Linked DNA regions of Homo sapiens: all the other regions are linked to region 2. The links are contacts of gene promoters, found by promoter capture Hi-C in blood cells and fetal thymus (Javierre and others, 2016). All regions are on one chromosome and are shown on one strand. Each heading gives the region's core, a stretch centred on a gene start or on the middle of the fragment in contact. The rest is flanking DNA. Distances are from core to core; before and after follow the strand shown.

Region 1 (4,059 bases), core at 903-3,402, 1.7 Mb before region 2:
AAAGTGCTGGGATTACAAGTGTGAGCCGCCATGCCCGGCGTGAGCTATCATTCTTTATAATGGACTTTGCAGAACAATCCTGTAAGGAAAATACATTCTTATTGGGAAGGAGTGCTCCAGACTCTTGAACCCCATCTATTTACCACTGCCCAAAGCACAGAATAAAAGCCATCTTAGGGGTTTCAACAAATCCTGTCATAAAAGTCCACTTAGATCACATAAAAAAAAAAAACTTTATTACTGGTTGCATAATGAGGGAGTGTCATGGTCTTGTCTAAAAGAAGCAGGAATCTCCAAGCAATCTACCAACAGCAGAGATCACATGCAGATATGTCAAAAAAAGATGTTAGCCTAGCATGTTCCAGAGAAACTTCTTAGAAGCAGACTATCTGGACAATTTAAGAAGAATTATATAGGAGTTATTTTCCTTATCGGTAAAATGGATGTAACAATAGTACTTGTCACATATAATTTTTCTGAGTATTACATGAGATAATTTAAATGAAGCTTTGGCTTAATGCTAATATGTTATTGTTATTGTTTTATTATTATATTGTTACTGTTGTTGTTAATAAGACAGCTTTTCACCACTTTTCCACGCACCTTTCCTGGGTTGGTACATGTTTAGTTTAGCATAACTAAAGGAGGCTTTAGATAATACAACTTAAGGCACAGATGAGATAGAAACTCTTATAACATATATAATAATGATAGCCAACATTATTAACCACATACTATCTGCCAGGCACATTTCTATGTGCTTTACAAGAATCATTTTATTTAATCCCTCATTAGCTCAAGAGTTAGATACTACTATTACCTGAATTAAGTTACAGAAGGAAGTTGAATAATTTAGCTAAGGTCACCCAGCTAGGAGAACTGGAGTCAAATCCAAGCAATCTAGATGGTACCAGAATATGAATCCTGAAAGCATCAAAGATCTGACTATATTTTAGATAACTCTAATTTGAGGCAAACTATAGTGGGTCCTTAATATTCCTCCATCCTTGCTATGTAACTCCTGAGACCCATTCAGCAATGGAAACCAATGGAGCTGAATGGCTGGAAAGTCACAGAATTGGAACAAGGAAAATAATCCAAAAGTGGAAGAAAAGAGTCCAAAACTGGAGGAAAAGAAACAAGAGGTAGGATCCAGGGTGCAATACTGGCTCATCTGGCTAAGAGTGGATGGCCAAAAGGGGTACCCTGACTAGGGCTGCAAAAACAGGAATTTTTTAAAAATTTTGTGCTTAAAAGATCTTGTCAATTTTCTACTTAAAAGATCTTCAGTGAACTAAGAGGAGGCATTAAACAAATATTCTGGCCAAGGGATAGAATGGCATTTGAAATAGCCTACTCTTTGTCCTGCCAATTTTATTGATAGCTCAGACAAAAGGAAATGAGAATATGCAATACAGCAGGAATGTAAAAAGATGACAAATTTGAGAGACATTTTAAAAATGTGTTGAGATGTGTTTGGTTGTACTCTGAAGAACAGCCTGGGTTTTGGGGGATCATGGTGTGGAGCTGTTATACATGGAGATGATATAGATAAGTTTGTGGCATTCGATTCATTTTCCTTCAAGTGGTTTTAGGCCAGGCAAAAAAAAAAAATTTTTTTTGAGGTAATAGCTAATAAAATGACACATTGAGGAAGAAGAGGCAGTGAAGGAAACTCAGAAGAAATGGAAAAGTAGGAGGCAAATTGTGAGAGGAATGTCAGAACCTATTTAGTGAATTTGGATTAGGTAGAAAAATACTATTTTAGTAGTTTAGTAAATAATTCAGCACAAATAAGAATGACTGAGGAAGAGTCACAGATTTTGTACTTGAAAGATTTTTGGTGAACTAAGAGGAGACAATTTGGGTCACACGGTAGGGTATAAAAGTCTTTTACAAGGAGTTTGGAAGTAAGGCTAAGAAGATAGAAGTAAAAGGTTTGCAAGAGAAATGGAGAGTGGAGAAACCACATAAGCAATTGCTGGATCTTGGGAATTTTATGTTTAGGATATTTAGAGGAAAGAGAGCAAAAGAAATATAAATACTGAAGTTGAAAGTTGGAAAGGCCTAACTAATAGAGCCAGACACCTGAGGCCACAGAAAGCAATGGCATCAAGGACCCAAGTAGAGAATAAACAGAAGAGACAATTCCCTCTTAGAAATTGAAAACAAGGAAGAAGGGAGATGTGAGGATGCAGATAAATTCTCATTTTTTCTTGAAATGCAAGTAAAGAATAATCTTTAGCTTCTCAGTGGAGGAGGAGGTGAGATAGGGAAGTGGAGGAAGGGAAAGATAATGTCACATAAGTGAAAAGAGTTGGAAATTTTTTTTTTTTTTTTTTTTTGAGACAGGGTCTTGCTCTGTCGCCTAGGCTAGAGTGTAGTGGCGCGATCTCGGCTCTCTGCAAGCTCCGTCTCCCGAGTTCATGCCATTCTCCTGCCTCAGCCTCCCGAGTAGCTGGGACTAGAGGAGCCCGCCACCACGCCAGGCTAATTTTTTGTGTTTTTTAGTAGAGACGGGGTTTCACTGTGTTAGCCAGGATGGTCTCGATCTCCTGACCTCATGATCCGCCCGCCTTGGCCTCCCAAAGTGCTGGGATTACAGGGGTGAGCCACTGCGCCACGCCAAGAGTTGGAAAGATTTTTAAAGCAGCCATTATGAGGAGTGGGATGATAAGTCAATGAAGGAGAAATAAATGGATATTTGTTTTCCTAAATAGATATTTATTGAGTACTATTTATCTTACAGTGCGGTGCTGTATGGATGCAAGAGGAAAAATCTAGCTGGGAATCTAGTTGGGGAATTATTACACAAAAATAGCTGCACATAAGAAGGTACAGGATGAGAAACAATTGAATGTATGCAGTAATTGCCAAACAAATTCAAAGATAGCAAAAGAAATATTCTTGGAGGATGTAAAACTTGAAGAGTTATAAACATTTTCCACAGTGTTAGGTATAGTATATGTTATAAACATTTTGAAGAGTACTTAGAACTTGAAGAGTGCTTAGAACTTAGGCAGGCAAAGATGGGTGTCAATTAGAGGTTTAACGGAGATGATTAAAGTCCAGTCTGGACCATAAAGTAAAGGTGGGGATAAAAACCTTTATAGGTATAGATGTGTAGAGAGAGGACGTCACAGGCACAGAACTTAAAAATCTATGGGACAAAATATGGAAGCATCAAATTAGCTCACTTTTCCCCAGGACAGAGTCTTCATGTGATCAGATTACATCTGGGTTCTTTTTCTAGAGAGCCTTGTGTGACAGGCTAAAAGTTTGGACTTTTCTCAGGAGACGTTAGAGAGACACTAAAAGTTTTTATAGAATTATATTGGGGACAATATAAAGTTGTGTTTTAGTAACGTTACTGTAGCACAGGTGAAGTACAGATTGGAAAGCTATAGTGACAGTCCAGGTCGAGGCACTTAAGACTTCACTATTTTAATTATCTTCACTATTTAAATTCCAGTAAGTGCTATAATTGCCAGGAAAATCTCTGGTTTTGCCTCATTATCATAGATTCATTAATTTCACCTTTTTATCCATCTTCCATATCTGATGATTTTTAGTCCTTTAATTCTGCCAAATTTTCAGTCTTCTCTTTAGCTCCGGTCCTTTCTTGACCTCCTCTGTTTTTCTGTGCTCTTTTTTTGTATGAACTTTTCCTGTTTTCTGTTCTGAATTTATTCAGAGTAGACCTGCACACTTCAGCTTCACAATAGGGAATTCCAATAAAATGATGATGCTGTGTGTCATTCATTTCCTAATGTTACTGATATATTCCATAATATTTGCTAAGCTTTAATGGTTATTAATGTTTTATGCTATCCTATTACATAAGCTCAATAAGATTTCTGATTTTTTTGGTATTATGACTAACCGGTGAGCATATTAAATTCAGTGTGGTTGTATTTGTGAGTGGAAGATAAGGATAGTAGCACTTGTAACCCTATAAGTTTCTTACCATTTTACTAAGTTTTCACTCAATTTTAATTAAATTTGAAAGTCTTTAAAATTAAGGTCAGAAACTTATGTATTAGTTTGATCTTGGTGCTT
Region 2 (4,409 bases), core at 258-2,757:
TCCACACAGATTTTCCTTAAAACTTACCAAAACTACCATCCATTGGATAATCAAGAGGGACCAATGGTTTTCTGGGTCCAGGTAAACTAATGGCTGAATTAAAAGCCAGGGCATCTTCACGCTCTATTTTTTGAGATTCAGCTGGCTTCTTCTGAGCTTCTTTTTCTGCTTCATCCACATGAATGGTGAACGCAGGCTGTTTACTGTTTGCTTTCCAAGGAGGAACGGTGACATGCTCATCATTTACAGGAAGATCCTTAAGGGGTGCAACCTAAAAAAAAATTAATAACTGGCTTTGAGCCTACTAGTCTTGCATTCTTTCTCTTATGGGTGTTGGCCTTTGCTTTTTCTCCCAAATACTCTATCAGGAATTAAACTTTCTGGGACAAAGAAGAGTTTCAGTATTCAAAAGAGAAGGGATGTTCCCATTTGTCACAGGCATTCCCACAAAGGCTATCAATAGATAACACTAGGTGGAATTATGCAAAACTTATCAGGGCCACAAGAAGGGTCGGGTGACAGGCCAATACGTGACAAGTTTAGGAAAGACAGCAAAAAAATTGTTGGTTCACCACTGTCGCCCGAGGGTGGAGCAACAGAGCAAATCCGGCTAAAATGGCGGAATTTGCCAAAAGCAAAGTATTTTGTACACGCTTTTCTAAAGTAGAGGTCATCTCTTAAGCGTGAGGAGGATAGGGGTCAGAGTCCTACAGCAGTGCCTGGGGTTTAAAAGTGGAGAGAAAGGCGCGGAGCTGAGCGAAGACTACACGTTTTAGAGCTTGGTTTGACCCCATTATGTACAGGCAGATGCCCCCTATAGAGAGCAGACCGGCAGCATACACACAGTGTTGGCGGGGTCCTGATGCTAATATGGGAGAACTCCTACTGTGGCAAACCACACACCAGCACCAACTGCACTCCAGACCCTGGCCCCCTTCCAAAAGCCCAGGACATGCCTTCTCGCCACTCTTCTCTGCCTGCTAAGCCAATGCCAAACCCTGCTCGACCCACCCTCCTGCAGATATCCCGCATCCCTTTACCCGTCTCGTCTTCGGCCTCTGCTGCTGCGCTAGACCCCGCGGGTTCCCGGACTTCAGTACCGCCAGCGCGGCCCGGGTCCGCGGTTGTTGGACGGGCGCTGCCTTTTCCGGGTTGATATTCTCCTGGTCCTCTTGGAGCGCCGTCTGCTGCAATGCTAGCAGCGCCGAGCCCGCCTCGCGGGTCGCAGGCCCCGGCGCAGAGTTGCCCAACATCACTGCTCCCGGGAGTGGACGGCGGGATCAGCCTGCGGCGCCAAGCAGCGTGCACTCTGCCCAGCCGACCACTCGCACCGACCCGGCCAAAGAATAGTCGTAGCCGCCGGTCGCAGCCCAGGCCAGCCTACCAGCCCGCCCGCTCGCTCACCCAGCTCGAGACCACGCAGGGCCGAGGAGGTTGCGAAAGGCGCAGGCAGGCACTGCCCAGCGTGGCGAGCCAAAGACGCCCAGAGATGCAGCGAGCAGCCCGCCGGAGCGGCGGCTGTTCTTGCAGTTCAAGTATCCCGCGACTATTGAAATGGACCAATGAAAGCGCTCGCGGCCTTGACGTCATTCAAGGCGACAGGGTCGCAGGCGAGTGAAGGGTAAACCAAAGGAAACTGAGCAGGGGCGGGGCAGGAGGGAGAAACAAACTGGCTGGGGCGGGAGAAAACGCCTGCGCGGGGCGGGGAGAGGTAGGATTTAGGGCCCGACGCTTCCGATTATTTTAAGCTGAGCCACCTAGTGAGCGAGGCTGTCCGAAGGCTGACTCTAAGCCTTTTAGGGAATTAAACGGAATTAAACTTTGGCGACTATCATTTGGGTTGCCCAGCCTTTAGCTCTGGGACGTCTAGTTAGCTTAAGTGACTTTTTCCAAAGGTCTAAAATCTGGGGCACGTTTTTCAGTATCTCCGATTCTCCGTTTTCTTATGTGTTAATAGGGACTAATAACTACAGTCATATGGTTGTTAGGATTAAATAATGTGCATAAATTATTTAACACGGAGCTCACATAGTAATACAGTACTCAAGTGTCAAGACTGTAATGTCATCTTAACATTTAGGCGTTTATTCATAGTAACCAGAAATTGTGTTTTATGCTTTTTATTTTTCCTAATGAAGATGCAATTAATTTAAGATGGCACCTTGAACTACTGTTGATATATATAATAAATAGCAGTGCATTACAAAATATTCAAATACAGTCATTAATTTTTTTCTATTTTTCCCCAAGCTGTGGCAACCAACAAAAAACACAATGACGTTCTAGTGACCTAGATATAATTATGTTCCTTTCAGAAGTAAAGTTTTTTAAACATAGTAAAAACAATATGACCTTATTAAAATAAAACTCTCTTAACTATACGTGCCTTTAACAAATTTTTATATTTATATATAAATATAAGAATATACAAAGCTTGCACATAACTAATAAGTATAATAGCATATCATTAAGAAGCACTGTTTTCTAAAAAATTCGTGAGTCTGCCCTTCTTGAAACATAAAGCTTATTTTCCATTATCTGTATGCCATTTTAAAACCTTTCAATATTCCCTTGAAATTAATAAATATGAATTAAGATTAATGCACAAAACTTCTGTAGCCTTAATGTCATATATGATAAAAAGAGATCTAGAAGATACTAGTGTAGGAAAATCTAAGATGGCATCACTATTTCTGCACTCTTCACTTGAAGCACGCTGAATAGCTCCACTGGTTACAGCATGTCTAATTAAGATCCCCCGACTCTGTGTAAGCTCTTCTTATTTCCTGGCTACAATTTATAGCACTGAGCCAAGTCCAGCATTTCCACAAACTGCAGCAGAGTCATAAAACACTACCAAGCAAAAGGAATATCAGTTGCAAATCAATCCTATCTCCTAGAAAAAACAATTGGTAGGTTATTTCCACTAGCTGGCAACATACATAGTAACCAGGACACAAAGCAAGTACCAGTACTTGGGTTCTGGTCCCAGCTTTACAAAATATTAGCATGTCCTCTTAATCACAAAATTTCACTGAGAATCAGTTTTCTTATATGATTTGACAAATTTTACAACAGTTGTGAAGATCAAATAAGGTAATATATAAAAATACATTTTGAAGCCTATAAAGCGGTCTACATGTTTATGTGTTTATGTACCTTGTAATACATTTGAATATATTTTAATTTTCCACATATTACTTCTCAATTTAAAAATTAAAACAGCCACTTGCCAAAAATTCATTAAAATCCTATTTAAATCATTCTACTTGTGTTTTAAAAATAAAAAGACTCTTTTAGTTTTAGAAAGTTCAATTTGTCAAAAGAAATAGAAGCATTACTTTAAAAAGCCATTATATCTCAAATATTTTTAGATATAAAAAAGCATTTGAAATTAAAGTACATACACAGTTAACTTCTAATTCTCTTTTAACATTTTTCATTTAAACAGACCACTTCTTTGGGACTTTACCTTATTTGTATGTCATGCTGCATCGAAGAATGAAATCAATGCATTTTGGTCATAACTGTCCAGAATTTCCAATAGAAGGGGTACTTTAGTTTTTACATTGGTGCCTTTAAACTTAAATTTATCTATGAAAAGATCAGTGATCATGCCTTTAAAGAAAAAACATAAATTTCCTGTCAGTGATTAGTTATATTTAATGACACAGTATTTCACTAAAGTAATTGCTTGATAATCTATTTTTAAGCACCTGTAATTCCATGATTTAACATACACAAACCTAAAAGCCATGTTTTTAAAAATAGTCATTTTGGGGGGATTTTAAAACAAGTTTCAAGATATAAATCATCTGCCTAATAACCCTCTTAACAATTGATTACAAGCTATTAATTCAGACAATCAACTACTGGCCATTTTTGAACTGCTATCAGTATATATAACATCACAACAAGTGGTATATTTTTTCCACCAAGCTGACCATTTTGACATAGTCTAGGCAGATTCTATTTTTAACAGCTTATCTGAATTAAAATATTCCACCTATATGTTGACCATTCTTGGGATTTGACTTGAAGGCAAATAGTCCTAGGTTCAAAGATCTGGGCAAATCATTTCACCTTGAGTTTTCTCATATGTAAAACAGGAATAATTCAAGCTGTCAATCCTTTATCCAAAAAGCTTGATGCAAGATGTATTTCAGAATTTTTCCTATTTTAGGAAGATAATGAAAGGAATATACTATGGTATTAACCCCAAGGGGACTGAGTAGCAGCATCCAATAGCAAAACATAGTACTATTTCTGGCACAAAATATACGGATGAATATTTGCACTAAGTGGAATAAAAAAGATATAACCTTGGGCTGGGCACGGTGGCTCATGCCTGTAATCCCAGCACTTTGGGAGGCTGAGGTGGGCAGATCACGAAGTCAGGGGTTGGAGAC
Region 3 (4,106 bases), core at 104-2,603, 1.8 Mb before region 2:
TGGGCTGGAGAAGGAAGAATGAAGTTGTCTGGCCCTTCCACCTGTGACTACACAGGCTGCTTGGTTCACTTAAGAAGGAGTAGCAAACCCTATTTCTGACTTAAGTGTAAGGCTCATTCTCCAATCCAGCTTTACTATAGAGTGCTGTAATTTGGGTAATAATACATATAATAAATTTCAATCTTCTTCTGTTTCCTGCATCTATGTCTCAAGTTGGTTAAAACTCACAAAGTAGAAGGATCAGGATTACATGTTAAACACAAATTCCAACACACCTTTGGTTACAAAAACAAGTGAAAGAATTAGAGAAGAAATGTTGCTGGAAAGAAAATGAATGCTCCTGTTTTAAAGCAAAATGCCCTGTGTGAACATTTAATGGCAGTATTATGAAAAGTTAATGCAATATTCAAATATTTTGACTACAAGTTCTTACTTCCTCAATTTGGAGTGAGATTCACACGGTATTCTAGTCTTTTTGTAGCTAAGTCTGGAGCAGGAGAACCCTCCTCTGTCCCCTAGACTCTGAGAGGAAACAAGATATAATAAAAGGATTTGGTTCCTATTGGTTTGGGAATTGGGCCAGCACATGGATTCTGGATGTTTGCAGTTGGGCAAATTACTTAACCTTCCTGAATCTTAGTTCTTAAATCTATAAAGTGGGGATATCAATTCTCACAGGGTTGTTGCAAGGATTGAGATAATGCATGTAATGAATGAATTTGAAGACTGATCCCTTCCCTGCCCACAAACTGAGCTAAAGATGTTCTATAAAGGATTCAGACTCCCCAGTGTTTCTTCATGGTTTTGCTTTATGGGTCTCCTCTGGGGCGATGGAGGCATCAGCGGAGTTGTAGAATTTCCATTTTGGATGCAGTCCTTCTCTCCCCACCCTCTTCTCCCTCACAGCCCTAAATTGAGGTTTGGGGGCTGTTCCTTGCTCCAGAGGACTCCTCATTTGGAACTCAGACTTAATTTCCTTTATCTCATGGCTCTCCCCATGTCCCATCATCAGTTTCTAAGACCACAGCTTGTGGCCCAAGTCTTCCATTTCCCCACTAACCCCAACCTCCATTCATTTAGGAGTCAGCTGAACAGATGTAAAGCACTTCAGTGGTGCCTGGCATACAGTAGATGATCAATACCCATGAATTTCCTTTCCTAGACTTGGAGGCTGTAAGCTTTACAGCCTGTTTTTAAAGAGCTGTACTGACTCTTATGAGTGTGAACACAGTGATCCAATAACTGCATGTTAGATATGAAATATTTTGCACATCACAGACCCAATCTTTAAAACCACTAGCATCTGTACTTGGTCAGTGAGACTGCCATTTCAGAAAGAAATTCATATCCATGTCTAGGCATCCACTAGATATGTCCATATCTAGAAAGTTTTTTAAAGTGTTTGGACTCTTTCCCTTGCAAGGAAATGGACTATGGGTGGTCCAGCTTATATTTGGGATGCCTTTTTCCACACAGATAAAATTCCAAGAAAATAAGATTTTGATCTCATGTAAGTTCCTTTGTGCAAACAAGCTTGCATAGCAAAATGGTGCAGATAAATGTAGATGAAATGGGCTTTGTACAAGTAAATGTAACTATATTATGTTTCTCTGGTATAAAAATAGATCACATGGTGGAGGACAAAAATAGGTGACATGGTAACATAAACCAACTTGTGTAATCAGAGGGTCAACTCTGACATTTTTCACTCTAGGCCTTTTCTAATAGTCTTGTTGCTAGGGCTACAATGTTTTTGCCAGATTGGAACAGAATTGTCAACTCTAATGAAGATTAAGTAGCTTGCCCAACTACGTTTGTTTTTTTTTTTTTTTTTAGCCTCAGTGAATACTGCTGGCTTTAAAAGTCATAATTATGAAGAATGGAAATATCTCTAAAAGATCTATTTTTAAAAATATATAACTAATAAAATTTAAAATTGAGTAGACAGTTTCCATTTCACAGCTATTCCAATATAAACTTTTATCAGTCACATTGAACAAAATAACTAGAAATATTTCATACATTTAAAAAAAGAATAAGAAATTATTTACAAGTTAAGCCGCAAACAATTCACCAAAAACTGAGTAATTAAGGTTACTTAACAAACAATTCTTCTGATTAGTTGGAAAATTGTTTCATTACTGTTCACAAATTCATACCTGATTTACTCTGTAGACAATATAGATTAGGCATAGGATAAAATCCTCTGTATTTGGTTCCTCCCAATCATTGGTCAAAGTCATCTGACAACAGACTATCTGAGGAAAGTGTAAATACAAAGTCACCCAATAAAACATGAATAAGTTTTGCAAAGCACAGTAAAGGAAAACCAGTTTGTTCTGAACACTTTATTGCTAAAAGGATGTAAAGGGTAAGAGGAAAAAGGTGACGAAACACTCCTTTTGATATGCTTGTTGGGGAGTCAGGATGAACTTCCTTGGCTAGGGATAGAAGGAAGAGATCACCTAAACTTCAAAAACCACAATACAATTTGCATACTTCCTTGGCCAGGGATAGGAGAGACCACTAAACTTCAAAAACCACGACACAATTTGCATGCCCATTGACCCCCAGTTTTACTTGTGCACAAAAGCATGAGAATTAAATAAAAATTCATGTGAAGTGACTAGTAAATAATAAATGCTAAGTGTTTATTCCCCTAATGTATTTATATATTTGTTGCCAGGAATTCCAATGCTGAGTAACCTTGCTTTTCCAATAAGCTTACAGCCTTTAGAACCAAAAGAAAGTCATCTTAATTTGAATATTACAGCATTAGTGACATCTGGTGGAAAATATAAGAGTTACAAAGTAGCATTACATAGCTATTCTGATCTTTCATGTAAATTTTAGATAAATTTTACATACTAAATGAAAACAAGATGAAGAAATGGTCTATGAAGTTATCTACCTTATTGTGCTAATAATCTTTGAATCTATATGCTAAAATATATAGGAAGTCAGTATAATTAGCATTATACTAATAAAAACATTTTTCAGCATGCATGTCTATATAGTGAAAAAATGATTAAAAATAGGCATGGGCTCTTTATCCTATTGTGAGTCTCATAAAAAGGGTCTCTTTTTTAAAGGAGAGCCCATACCTCTCTTTTTATGGCATCACATGCCAAAGAACCTCCCTTAACAAGTTTTCAGATCAAATTGTGAACTGTGGGGTGTGTTAGGAAGTATGTCAAGAAAATAGCTGGTTGTGCTTCAGAGAATATGGAATTTAGGTATATTTGGGAGAGACATTCTGTTTGAGATACTATGGATGGAGGCAACAAACGATGTTTTACAAGTGAGCTTTAAATATTACGGTATCAAATGCTCTGAACTAGGGAGGGGTTCAAGTATTTGTGACCAAAAGAGCAAACTGTGATCTGTTACAGGACTGGTAAGCTACAACCCTGGGGCCGAAGCAAACAGCCATGTTTTTTTCTTATTGGAACACACTCACGCTCATTCATTTATGTATTGTCTATAGCTGCTTTCAGCCTCGAGTAGGTGCAAGAGACCATATGCCTTCAAAAGCAGAACTATTTACTACCTGGCCATTTACAGAAAGTTTGCCAACCTCTAGTCCATTAGATAACTGTCATCAAACTTCTCGGTGCCATTCCCACCACCTCCATGGGAGGAGTATACTTCCTGGTCCCATTAAAGTTAGGCTTGACCTTCACTTGCTTTGGTCAGTGTGAAAAAGCTGGCCTTCAGAGTCCTGACTAACCAATGTCCCTCCAACAGAATGAGAAAGGTGCAGCAAAAGCCAACCAATACATGAGACTGTTATACCTCTGCACAAGCATTCTCACAGAGGTTTGACTTCTCTGATTGATGACACTGGGAAAAGGATCCTGAAAGCCAGATACAGTTCAGTTCCTCCTGGGCTCTACTTCAGACCTTGATGGGCTTAACCTCTGTTCATCCTCTACATATGGTAAGCAACACTGAGCCAGAGTCCAGGCCAGGCCTAGAGGCCTATCATGCTGTCTTAGAACCTTCTCTTTAACATGGTGTAGAAACCACTCACAAGTCTTTCAGCTGTTGATTTAAACATCATCCTCCTGAGGTAAGCCTCAAGGTCTAGAAAGAGGATGGGACAG

What was found. The method cuts DNA at HindIII sites, captures the fragments that hold promoters and counts their contacts. A CHiCAGO score of 5 or more calls a contact.
Region 1: a fragment that was not itself captured here is called in contact with the fragment with the promoter of CCNA2 in region 2 in 1 of 17 cell types (total CD4 T cells); the score reaches 6.2 in total CD4 T cells.
Region 3: a contact is called between a fragment that was not itself captured here and the fragment with the promoter of CCNA2 in region 2, in 1 of 17 cell types (naive B cells). The highest score is 5.5, in naive B cells.

Annotation. Positions count from the first base shown.
Region 1 is chr4:120,076,977-120,081,035 of GRCh38, forward strand. All of the region lies in intron 1 of MAD2L1-DT (MAD2L1 divergent transcript), which reads left to right. Among named protein-coding and RNA genes, the nearest start is that of MAD2L1-DT, 12 kb to the left of the region's middle. The HindIII fragment of the contact is 3,295 bases long and covers 506-3,800 here.
Region 2 is chr4:121,822,376-121,826,784 of GRCh38, forward strand. It overlaps CCNA2 (cyclin A2), which reads right to left and starts at 1,508. Exons shown (of 8, transcript NM_001237.5): 1 at 1,041-1,508; 2 at 28-271. The coding sequence starts at 1,253. BBS7 (Bardet-Biedl syndrome 7) reads right to left here. Exons shown (of 19, transcript NM_176824.3): 19 at 1,954-3,618. The coding sequence ends at 3,485. RefSeq lists enhancers at 1,047-1,096, 1,287-1,356. The HindIII fragment of the contact is 5,182 bases long and covers 1-2,431 here.
Region 3 is chr4:120,053,660-120,057,765 of GRCh38, forward strand. It overlaps MAD2L1 (mitotic arrest deficient 2 like 1), which reads right to left. Exons shown (of 5, transcript NM_002358.4): 5 at 1,964-4,106. Among named protein-coding and RNA genes, the nearest start is that of MAD2L1, 11 kb to the right of the region's middle. The HindIII fragment of the contact is 355 bases long and covers 1,177-1,531 here.